2 separate regions of the Homo sapiens genome follow, and region 1 is linked to region 2. The links are contacts of gene promoters, found by promoter capture Hi-C in blood cells and fetal thymus (Javierre and others, 2016). All regions are on one chromosome and are shown on one strand. The core of a region is centred on a gene start or on the middle of the fragment in contact, and the rest is flanking DNA. Distances in the headings are between cores, read along the strand shown. Region 1 overlaps ICMT (isoprenylcysteine carboxyl methyltransferase). Region 2 holds the start of NOL9 (nucleolar protein 9).

What was found. The method cuts DNA at HindIII sites, captures the fragments that hold promoters and counts their contacts. A CHiCAGO score of 5 or more calls a contact.
Region 1: a contact is called between a fragment that was not itself captured here and the fragment with the promoter of NOL9 in region 2, in 1 of 17 cell types (activated CD4 T cells). The highest score is 5.1, in activated CD4 T cells.

What each region holds. Positions count from the first base shown.
Region 1 is chr1:6,222,685-6,228,227 of GRCh38, reverse strand. ICMT (isoprenylcysteine carboxyl methyltransferase) reads left to right here. Exons shown (of 5, transcript NM_012405.4): 5 at 2,966-5,543. The coding sequence ends at 3,148. Among named protein-coding and RNA genes, the nearest start is that of ICMT, 11 kb to the left of the region's middle. The HindIII fragment of the contact is 2,283 bases long and covers 2,029-4,311 here.
Region 2 is chr1:6,552,935-6,558,529 of GRCh38, reverse strand. It overlaps NOL9 (nucleolar protein 9), which reads left to right and starts at 4,017. Exons shown (of 12, transcript NM_024654.5): 1 at 4,017-4,423. The coding sequence starts at 4,028. It overlaps TAS1R1 (taste 1 receptor member 1), which reads right to left and starts at 3,223. Exons shown (of 6, transcript NM_138697.4): 1 at 2,966-3,223. The coding sequence starts at 3,156. RefSeq lists a silencer at 4,052-4,311. The HindIII fragment of the contact is 17,405 bases long and covers 3,729-5,595 here.

The sequences.
Region 1 (5,543 bases), core at 1,921-4,420, 330 kb after region 2:
GAGGATCGCTTTGATTGCTGCTGTACTCCAGTCTGGGCAACAGAGTGAGACCCTGTCTTAAAAACAGAAAACAAAATTATTTATTTGTGTATTAAAGATGAGATCTCGCTGTGTTGCCCAAGCTAGTCTCAAACTCCTGGGTTCCAGCAGACCTTCTGCTTTTGTCTCCTGAGTAGCTGGGACTATAAGTGTGCACCACCATGCCCAGCTAACTTTTTGTTTTTTGTAGAGATGGGGTCTTAGTGTTGCCCAGGCAGATTTTGAACTCCTGGGCTCAAGCAGTCCTCTCACTGCAGCCTCTCAAAATGCTGGGATTACAGGCATGATCCACCATGCCCAACCCAAAGCCTTATTTCTTTTTTTTTTCTTTTTGAGACAGAGTCTCGCTCTGTCGCCCAGGCTGGAGTGCAGTGGCGCAATCTCGGCTCACTGCAAGCTCCGCCTCCTGGGTTCACGCCATTCTCCTGCCTCAGCCTCCTGAGTAGCTGGGACTACAGGCGCCCGCCACCATGCCTGGCTAAATTTTTTGTATTTTTAGTAGAGACGGGGTTTCACTGTGTTAGCCAGGATGATCTCAATCTCCTGACCTCATGATCCACTTGCCTCAGTCTCCCAAAGTGCTGGGATTACAGGCGTGAGCCATCGCGCCTGGCCGCCTTATTTCTTGAAACTGTTTCTTGATTCTTTACTCTTGGTCCTAGAAAAACTTGGCCAAAGAATGTGAATAGATCTTGGAAAATTCACGAAGTGTTTGGGAAAAGTCTCCAAGTCTTTGGGCAAATCCAGAGATCTCTCAGGCATCCCATCAGCAATGCATGGTCCTTGGTGACTCTGGTGACCCCTAACGGTATAGGTGGGGCAAATGATCACATAGCATTTACAATTTTTGTTTCTGAAACATGTAAAACCGCCACATTAACAATCACCTTCCCTGGGAACAAATTAGTTATGACTGAATAATGTAATTTGCCATAAATGCTTGCTTCCTGTATATGTGTGTGCACTAGAACCAAAGGGTTTTCCATACCTTTTTGCCCATAGATTTTTTTTACATTGTGCTCCAGCACTTGTGTGTGTATGAAAGGAACATGTCTTTCCTGATATAATACTTACACTTACTGTTTACAAAATCCTGTTTTCTATCTTATTATTTCAATACTGTTCATAATGTACTAAATGATTTCATGGCTTAGTAACAGGCTGCAGCCTGCTATAGAGAACTCCCACTGTAGGGTATCCCCAGCAAGCTATGCCAGATGTGAGGGTACAGGCCCCGGAGTCACTGACTGGGCCAGTCCTGATTCTGACATTCACTGCTTGGCCTCCTTCTCCTCTCATGTTAAAGTGGGGGCAGCTAGACATAGTGGCACATGCCTGTAGTTCCCCCTACTCTGGAAGCTGAGGCAGGAGGATGGCTTGAGGCCAAGAGTTCAAGTCCAGCCTGGGCAATATAGTGAGACCCTGTCTTTAAAAAATAATAAAATTTTAAAAAAAACAAAGTGGGGATAGTAGCGTGCCCTCAAAGGTTTGCCATGAGAGTTGAACAGGGTAATGATTGTAAAGGGCTTAGCATGGCGCTGGGAACATAGTAAGTGCTCAATAAGAGAAGGTGTGAGAGGTCAGGACATGAGCCTGGCTCTCCGGGTGGCTGTATTGGAGCCTAAAATATATATTCAGAAAACATACAGAAAATGTATGTTGGGGAAGATGCACATCCACAGGGGACCAGTGGGCAGGTGTAGGTGAGTGGTTCCCTGAGGAGCTGGGGAATGCTTTTGGCCTTGAAGGACTGTTTGGCTGGAGATCAGTGGGAAGGATGTTCTTTGTTTTTTTTGAGAGGGAGTTTCGCTCTGTCGCCCAGGCTGGTATGCAGTGGCGATCTCAGCTCACTGCAACCTCTGCCTCCTGGGTTCAAGCAATTCTCCTGCCTCAGCCTCCCAAGTAGCTGGGATTACAGGCTCCCACCACTACGCCCAGCTAATTTTTCTATTTTTGGTAGAGACGGGGATTCGCCATGTTGGCCAAGCTTGTCTCAAGCTCCTGACCTCAGGTGATCTGCCCTCCTTGGCCTCCCAAAGTACTGCAATTAACAGACATGAGCCACCGTACCTGGCCAGGATGTTCTTAAAGGTGGAAGAAAGGGCCAGGAGTTCGAGACCAGCTTGGGCAACATTGTGAAACCCCATCTCTACAAAAAATACAAAAATTAGCTGGGTGTGGTGGCATGTGCCCTTAGTCCCAGCTACTTGGGAGGCTGAGGTGGGAGAATCACTTGAGCCCAAGCAGTTAAGGCTGCAGTGAGCCATGATCACGCCACTGCACTCCACGTGACAGAGTGACAATCTGTCTCGGGGGAAAAAAAAGAGGCAAAGTGGGCACAGCGTGGGGAGGGCAGGAGACTGGGGAAGTGGGCGAAGTGCTGCTCTTCTGGGGTTGGAAACCCAGACTCAGGGGGTGGGGTTCAGTCTCTGGAGCTCTCTGAGCGTGGAGGTAATCTGCTGGAAGGGGCATTTCGGAAGCTGAGTTTTGTGGCACTGTATCTCGTGCTGAAGCAGAGGCTGTGGGTTTAGGAGGCAGAGGCCCAGGCAGCTGTGGTGTAAGCGAATGCATTTGTGGTGGGAGGGTCCTGGGCAGGAAGGCAGCGTGCATGGGACCTCATGTTGGGGAGCTCACACCTGGAGGTGGGGGGCATTGCTGTCACCCCAAGCTGAGGGTTGAAATCCAAGAGGTTGATCTTGTGATTTACAGATCTCTCTCATGTAAGAGGAGCAACAGGAAAGCACGTGAGAAAGGCCTGCAGCACTGAGTGCTCAGGGCTAAGGTGACAGTACTGCTCCCAGAGACCCTGACGGTCTCAGCAGGGCATGGGCACAGAAATCCTCTGGGTATTAGAGACAGACGCCTACCAAAGCACAGGGCGTCATCCCACGGTCACCCTGATGAGCCTGGTGTCTCCCTCTGTTAGGTGATGCTGTGTAACCCCATCTGCGGCGTCAGCTATGCCCTGACAGTGTGGCGATTCTTCCGCGATCGAACAGAAGAAGAAGAAATCTCACTAATTCACTTTTTTGGAGAGGAGTACCTGGAGTATAAGAAGAGGGTGCCCACGGGCCTGCCTTTCATAAAGGGGGTCAAGGTGGACCTGTGACGGGCAGTGGCCCCGGTGACCTTGGGGCCTCCGACCCTGTGCAGCCTGGGACAAAACTGTTTCCGGTTGGCCGCTGCCACATGGATTTTCTTAATCGTTTTATGTCATTAGTCACTCTTCTGGAATGTCACTCAAGACCAAGCGGTCAGAAGGCCTGAGGACCCAAGGCCCCACTGGAGCAGTCTGTCCTTATGCCGAATCAAGGCGGAACATGGGTGAAAGACGAGTAAGGGGCAAATCACAGCAATATTCCACAGCGCCCTCCAGAGTTACCTGGGGAGGACCGAGGCCACACGCCACTGCCCCCGAGGCCAGAGTGTAAGTAAAGGATAACCAGGACTCGCTGGGAGAGATGGACTCTGTCCTCAGCAACACTCCACAGCAGAAAGGGGTAGCAGGTACCCCTTCTTATCAGCGGTAAAAATGCATTTACAACCTTTCATTTAACCGAAAAACACAGACCGCTTTAACCTCTTTATTTCTGTCCCCCACTGCATGAACATCTATACAATTTTAAAAATACTTCCTCATAGGATGCTTTGGCCCTTCATCTATTTAATCATAGCTACATACCTATTTTTTATAAGTAGCAGTACACATTCAAAGGGGTATTCCTAGCTCAATGCTTGGTGTTCTAGTTCAACTTTTATCCTGCAGCAAGTAAGCCTAGATAACTCTACACGATTTGGCTGAGTGGCTTTGTGTGACCGTGGCCCCAGGCCAAGGGGATCATGGCCCTGGCTGGCTTTCCCGGGGGTCTCAGCTCCTGTTGTCAGTGATAGGCGGCTCAAAGGAGCATCAGTTTCTTTTGATCCAAGAAGTGCTTACTGAATGCCTGCCCTGTGCGTGGCCTTAAACATTGAGAAGTGCTGCTCTCCGTTTATTTGGGATTTGATTCTCATTTTACCATAGCTTATATTCTCAATTTCAATGCCAGTCTCAGAACTCTTGTTTTCTGTGTTCTGTTCTCAAAATTACATTGTCCCTCATGTCATTTCAAACTGTTTTCCAAAGGGATTTGAGCATATACAACTACAAATCCAAGCAGATTGACTCTCAAAAATAATCTTAAATACTGCAAATAGTCCCAACTAAGATTCAGTCAGTATGTTTGTTTTGCAAGTTTGGGAGAGTAAGTTGGCTTTGAGTCACACATCGAAGCTTTAAGAGGTGAGACGCTGGCTTCATTCTGGACTAGACAGGAACTTGGCCTCAGCGTGAGATCCTGCCATGCAGTGTTGCGGTGGCACTGAAGAAGTGTGAATGTGAAGGCGGCGTCGGCGCGGGGCCAGAGCACCACTCTGCTGCCCCACCACGCGGCCTGTGAGGAGCCACTAAACCTTTCCGTGCCTAGACCTCCCCATCTGTGGAATGGGGTCAATACCACCTACCTCACAGGGGTGTTGTGAGGACTGAGAAGAACAATGTCAAATGTTTTTAATACTCAGATGTGGGAGCGACATCAATGAAATCTGTACTGTATGAAAGCTACACAAAAATGGGCAGACATTTGGTTAATTGTGCCAGATACCTAAAATGTATGTTCAGAAAAGCATTTTATCAACTCAGAAATATGACTTATTTCTAGATTTCATGGCTTAATGAATTTTTTCATTGTTATATATACCAAAGAGGCTTACGGGTTCATTGATTGGTTTGAAAACCAGACAGACGGCCGGGCGCGGTGGCTCACGCCTGTAATCCCAGCAATTTGGGAGGCCAAGGCGGGTGGATCATGAGGTCAGGCGTTCGAGACCAGCCTGGCCAACATGATAAAACCCCGTCTCTACTAAAAATACAAAAAAATAGCTGGGCGTGCTGGCGGGTGCCTGTAATCCCAGCTACTCAGGAGGCTGAGACAGGAGAATCCTTTGAACCCAGGAGGCGGAGGTTGCAGTGAGTTGAGATCGGGCCTTTGCACTTCAGTCTGGGCAACAGGGCGAGACTCCATCTCAAAAAACAACAACAACAACAAAAAAAACCGGACGGACTTGCCCATCGGCCCTCACGACACGCGTGCAGTGGGACTCTAGCCAAGGCGGTGGCCGAGCCATCATTACAATTTTTCTGGAGTAAAGGATCCACGGTGGGACATCAACTGGCACTTACTCTGTTTAGGAACTTGAGTTGAATCATTTCTAAACTTGTCCTTTAGACCACGCCTAGGGCAGCAAATTCCACTTCCTAGAACTGCAAACCGGGAGAGGATGTAGTTAGATTCTGGCATCCTGCCCCGGCTCTTTGAGGGAAAAGTTCTTTCCCCTGCTCTAAGTAGGGCGGGCCCAGCCTCCATTCCCATTGGGAGCCATGAAGTTGTCTTGTTGATAGGTCTAGGGCAGCTGTTGGCAGCTGCTGGCCTTGTGGATGGTAAGCTGACTGTGTTGGCATTTAATGC
Region 2 (5,595 bases), core at 2,768-5,267:
CAGGCTGGTCTGGAACTCCCAACCTCAAGTGATCTGCCTCCCTTGGCCTCCCAAAGTGCTGGGATGACAGGCATGAACCACCACGTTCGGCCAAAATAAATAAATTAAAAATACCTTCATGGCAACAGCTGGACTGATGTTTGACTACACAACTCTAGGCACTATAGCCTAGACAATCTGACACGCAAAATTCACCACCACGGCTCACACCTATAATCTTAGCACTCTGGGAGGCCTAGCACTGTGAGAGGACTGCTTGAGCTCAAGAATTTGAGACCAGCTTGGGCAATGTAGTGAGACCCTGTCTCTATAAAAAATTTAAAAAATTAGCGGTAAGTGGTGGCATATGCCTGTAGTTCCAGCTAGTAAGGAGGCTAGGGCCTCACTGAGGCCCAAGCAAAGCTGCAGTGAGCTATGATTGTACCACTGGACTCCAGTATGAGCAAAAGAGGAAGACCCTGTCTCAGAAAAAAAACAAAAACAAAAACAAAAACTAACCACTACACCTGCTTAACCTTGTTTAATTAGTGCTTCTCACCAGGACACTTATGAATGTGTTGAGGGCCTATATGCCTTATCACCCCTACTTCAGCAACTCCTGTCTGGAGCCCACCAGGAATGAGCCAGGGACAGGATTCAGCCCCGTTTAAAGAGCAGGCTAAGCCAGGTGCAGTGGCCCATGCCTGTAGTCCTAGCTACTCAGGAGGCTGAGGATGGAGGATTGCTTGATCCCAGGAGGTGGAGACTAGCCTGGACAACATAGTGAGATCCCAGCTCAAAAAAACTTTTTTGTAATGGCTGGCCCAGTGGCTCACCTAGAATCCCAATGCTGTGGGAGGCCCAGGCAGGAGAATCACTTGAGACCAGGAGTTTGAGACCAGCCTGAGCAACACAGTGAGACCACCTTCTCAACAAAAAATTAAAAAATTAGCCAGGAGTGGTGGTGCATGCCTGTAGTCCCAGCTACTTGGGAGGCTGGGGCAGGAGAATCACTTGAGCTTCAATGAGGCCCAAGTAAGGCTGCAGTGAGCTATGATTGCACCACTACACTCCAGCCTGGGGGAAAGAGCAAGACCTCATCTCTATAAATAAACAAATAAACAAACAAATACATAAAGTGTGCTAGCCTGTTCCATTTTCCAGCCTCTTGCTTGTTAGAAGGTCTTCCATGGTTTCTACCACTTCTGTCCCGAGTCTCTCAACGGAGGGTTCGTGCCTCCTGCCTGAGACAATTCTTCAGGTATCTGAAGCCGGTTTTCATGTCTTCCCTCCTCCTGCTCTACCCAATCTCTCTTCCCAGCCCATTCTCTTTATCTCTTTATCCAGGTTTCTAGCTGTAGCCCTTCGAGTAGGTCGTCATACACTAGATTTCCAGAAACTTCTTCCTGAGCCAACCATCTCGTGTGCTTCATGGGTAGGACATCCTGCAGCCAAGCCTCGGCAGCATTCTTGGGCCTCTGGGTCTGTGACTTCCACAGTCTGCAAGCAACTGTCTTCGTCTTTTTTTTTTTTTTTTTTTTTGAGATGGAGCCTCGCTCTGTCGCCCGGGTTGGAATGCAATGGTGTGATCTTGGCTCACTGCAACCTCCACCTCCGGGTTCATGCGATTCTCCTGCCTCAGGCTCCTGAGTAGCTGGGATTACAGGTGCACACCACCACACCCGGCTAATGTGTTGTATTTTATGTAGAGACAGGGTTTCACTATGTTGGCCAGACTGATCTTGAACTCCTGACCTCGTGATCCGCCTGTCTCAGCCTCCCAAAGTGCTGGGATTACAGGCGTGAGCCACTGTGCTCGGCTGCAACTGTCTTCTTTAAAAGAAAAGCAGGCCGGGCGCGGTGGCTCAAGCCTATAATCCTAGCACTTTGGGAGGCCGAGGTGGGCGGATCACCTGAGGTCGGGAGTTCGAGACCAGCCTGACCAACATGGTGAAACCCCTGTCTCTACGAAAAATACAAAAATTAGCTGGGTATGGTGACACATGCCTATAATTCCAGCTACTCCCGAGGCTAAGGCATGAGAATCACTTGAGCCCAGGAGGAGGAGGTTGCAGTGAGTCAAGATTATGCCACTGCACTCCAGCCTGGATGACAGACTGAGTCTCCATCTCAAAAAAATATAGATAGATAGATAGATAGATAGAAATAAAAGAAAAGCAGTAGTTTCCCTCTACCTAGATTGTTGACTTCATGATGGCACCAACCTAATTTATATTTGTCAAGCTCCTAAAGCATCTAATGGGATGTGTCTTCCCTTCCCACCCCATGAAGAACCATGGAGAATCCTACTTGTCATCTGGGACTCTAGGGAACTTTGAACATGGGTAGGAGTGGAGAGAAGATAGAAGAGGGAAAAAGCGGCTGGGCGCGGTGGCTCACGCCTGTAATCCCAGCACTTTGGGAGGCCGAGGTGGGCAGATCACGAGGTCAGGAGATCGAGACCATTCTGGCTAACACGGTGAAACCCCGTCTCTACTAAAAATACAAAACATTAGCTGGGCGCAGTGGCGGGTGCCTGTAGTCCCAGCTACTCGGGAGGCTGAGGCAGGAGAATGGCGTGAACCCGGAAGGCGGAGCTTGCAGTGAGCTGAGATCGCGCCACTGCAGTCCCACCTGGGTGAAAGAGCGAGACTCCGTCTCAAAAAAAAAAAAAAAAAAAAAAAGAAGAGGGAAAAAGCTGCCCTTGCTTAGGCCTGGCCACCTAGGTATGGTACAAAGCCAAGAACCAATTTCAATGAAGTTACAATACAACACATTCTAACAGCAAGGGTGAAATAATTGGAAACTGGCCGAAGTGTCTAGGAAGGTCTAGCCAGCACTTAGGTGGCAAGTGGATTGATGAACAAGGCCTGGGGACAGTTCAAGGGGCAAAGGCAGAGGCAAGGTCCTGTTTGGAGGATGGCAGCCAGAGGGGCCCTATAGCCAGGGGTCCCACTAAGTGTGGCTCTGCTGGCCCCTCACTCACCTGTCACACAGGGTCACCTCGGGTCTGTGCCTCACCTGCAGACAGCCAGAATGGAGAGGGAACAGGCCTGCCAGGAGGTAATCTCCGGGGAGGGTGAAGTCAGGAGAAGACTCCGTGCTATGGCAGGCAAAGGCCCAGCAGCAGGAAATGAGAAGCTGCAGGCCGACCAGGCGAGCCGTGCAGAGCAGCATGCTGGCCAGATGCCCGCGCCTGGCATGGCCAAGGAGTGGCCTCTAAGGAGGCCAGTTGCTTAAATAGAAGGCAGCTGCCGGATGCTTCCTAACTTCAGGCCCCCAAAAGGGGTGGGACTGGAGCCCAGTGGCTGAAGCAGGACTGTTTGCCTTGACATTCCGGGCCTGCGGTCCCACTCAGGAACTGGGCAGGACGAAGGCACAGATGCAAACCAGGTGGCACCCAGTGACCCTTCCTCTGGACGGTTGTGGGTTCTGTCCACGCTCTGTGACTTCACCTGGCTTAGAAAAGGAGCTCTGGCATTTTGGGGCGAGGTGGGAGGCTGGAACACAATTTCTCCGGGTGTTGCGAGGTTTCAGAACTTTTTACCTGGGCCTCAGTTTACTAAATGAGACACAGCTTTGAGTCGACACCCCCCTGCCCCAGTCTCCAGTTTTCTGACATTAAGATTCTGAGCAAATTGTCATATACTTTCGCCTTGTTACCCAGGGTTGCTCACTTCGAAACAAATGCATGCAAACCGAAGGTATGCAAATAGACATGTTTTGTTTAAACTGCCAATCCTAAAGCTTTTTCTGCAGGAGAAAAAAAATATCCCGGTGTTTTTCCGGAGAGGTGGCCCATGGCTGGTCGCGAGGTTTCTGGCTTTCTCTCTCCGGCCGGCTGGGGTAGGGAATTTGCGTAACGTAAATGGAGTCCTCCGTGGAGCCCCTCGACCAGATCGGCTGGAACCTCCTAGTGTGCTTCCGGAGGTTGCCGGCAGAGGGCGCCGGCGGCTCGGAGGCCCCTCTTTTCGGCAGCTGGGAGGGCAGCGGGGCGGACCGACGGGATCTCGCGAGATTCTCGCGCGGTAGGCCCTGAGGACCCAGCATGGCGGACTCGGGACTGCTGCTAAAGCGGGGTTCCTGCCGTTCCACTTGGCTGCGGGTCCGCAAGGCCCGGCCCCAGCTCATCCTCAGCCGCCGGCCCCGCCGCCGGCTCGGGAGCCTGCGCTGGTGCGGTCGGCGGCGCCTACGGTGGCGGTTACTGCAAGCCCAGGCGTCCGGCGTGGACTGGAGGGAGGGAGCCCGCCAGGTGTCGCGCGCGGCGGCGGCCCGGAGACCCAACACCGCGACCCCCAGCCCGATCCCTAGCCCGACCCCGGCCTCCGAACCCGAGTCCGAACCCGAACTCGAATCCGCCTCGAGTTGCCACCGGCCTCTCCTCATCCCACCGGTGCGGCCCGTGGGCCCCGGCCGCGCGTTGCTGCTGCTGCCGGTCGAGCAGGTAGGTGGGGGGCGCCGGTAGTAGTCCCCGAGGGCAGGGAGGGCTGGAGAGGCAGCCCCGGGAGAGCTGCAGGGTAGGAGAGGACCGTGGTCCCCCGGGCCTGTTCTCTGGCTGCCAGTCGGATTCAAGTCCATCCTCTTGATGGTTGGTGGCAACTAGGCTCCCCTGAGCAGCAGGGTAACAGGTACCCTGCTAAGGGGTCCCTAGGCCTTACGAGCTAAAGGGACTTTATTTTGTTTTGTTTTCTTTCTTTCTTTTTCTTTTTGAGACAGAGTCTCACTCTGTCCCCCAGGCTGGAGTGCAGTGGCACAATCTCGGCTCACTGCAACCTCCGCATCCCGGGTTGAAGCGATTCCCCTGCCTCAGCCTCCGGAGTAGTTGGGACTACAGGCGCGTGCCACCTCGCCCGGCTATATTTTTTGTATTTTTAGTAGAAACGGGGTTTCGCCATGTTAGCCAGGATAGTCTCGATCTCCTGACCTTGTGATCCACCCGCCTCGGCCTCTCAAAGTGCTGGGATTACAGGTGTGAACCACCGCACCTGGAACTCTGAAAGGGATTTTAATAGTTAAAAAAAAAAAAGGTTGCAATTACTGAGAGCTCAGAAATTCCAGGATTTAAGGGTTCCAAAAGTGTTTTAGGCTTTGAACCCATTTAAACATCCAGCTCTCTTACGGAGTAGTTGTCCCTCTCTCTAAGTGTTTACAGACGAGGAGACTGAGGTTGGGTAACTTACACAGTAGAGGGAGAGCTAGGAGTCGAACTCAGGCAGCCTGATTCTTAACGTGGATGCCATTCCTGGAGATTCCCTGTCTAATGCAGGAGGGAAGGCAAAACCCAGGAAGTTCTGGAAGAGACTTGGCAAGCTGTGGGTCTTTAAAAGGACAGAGTGGTAGAGTCTGTCTGAACCAGGAGCACAGAGCCGAGTTCACGGTCACCATGCTTTCTCTGTAGCTGCCATGGGGTATGATCTTAGTTTAAAAATATAAAGTATGGGCCAGGCGCGGTGGCTCAGGCCTGTAGTCCCGGCACTTTGGGAAGCCGAAGCTGGCAGATCATCTGAGGTCAGGAGTTTGAGACCAGCCTGACCAACATGGTGAAACCTCATCTCTACTAAAAATACAAAAATTAGCTGGGCATGGTAGCACACGCCTGTAATCCCAGCTACTCAG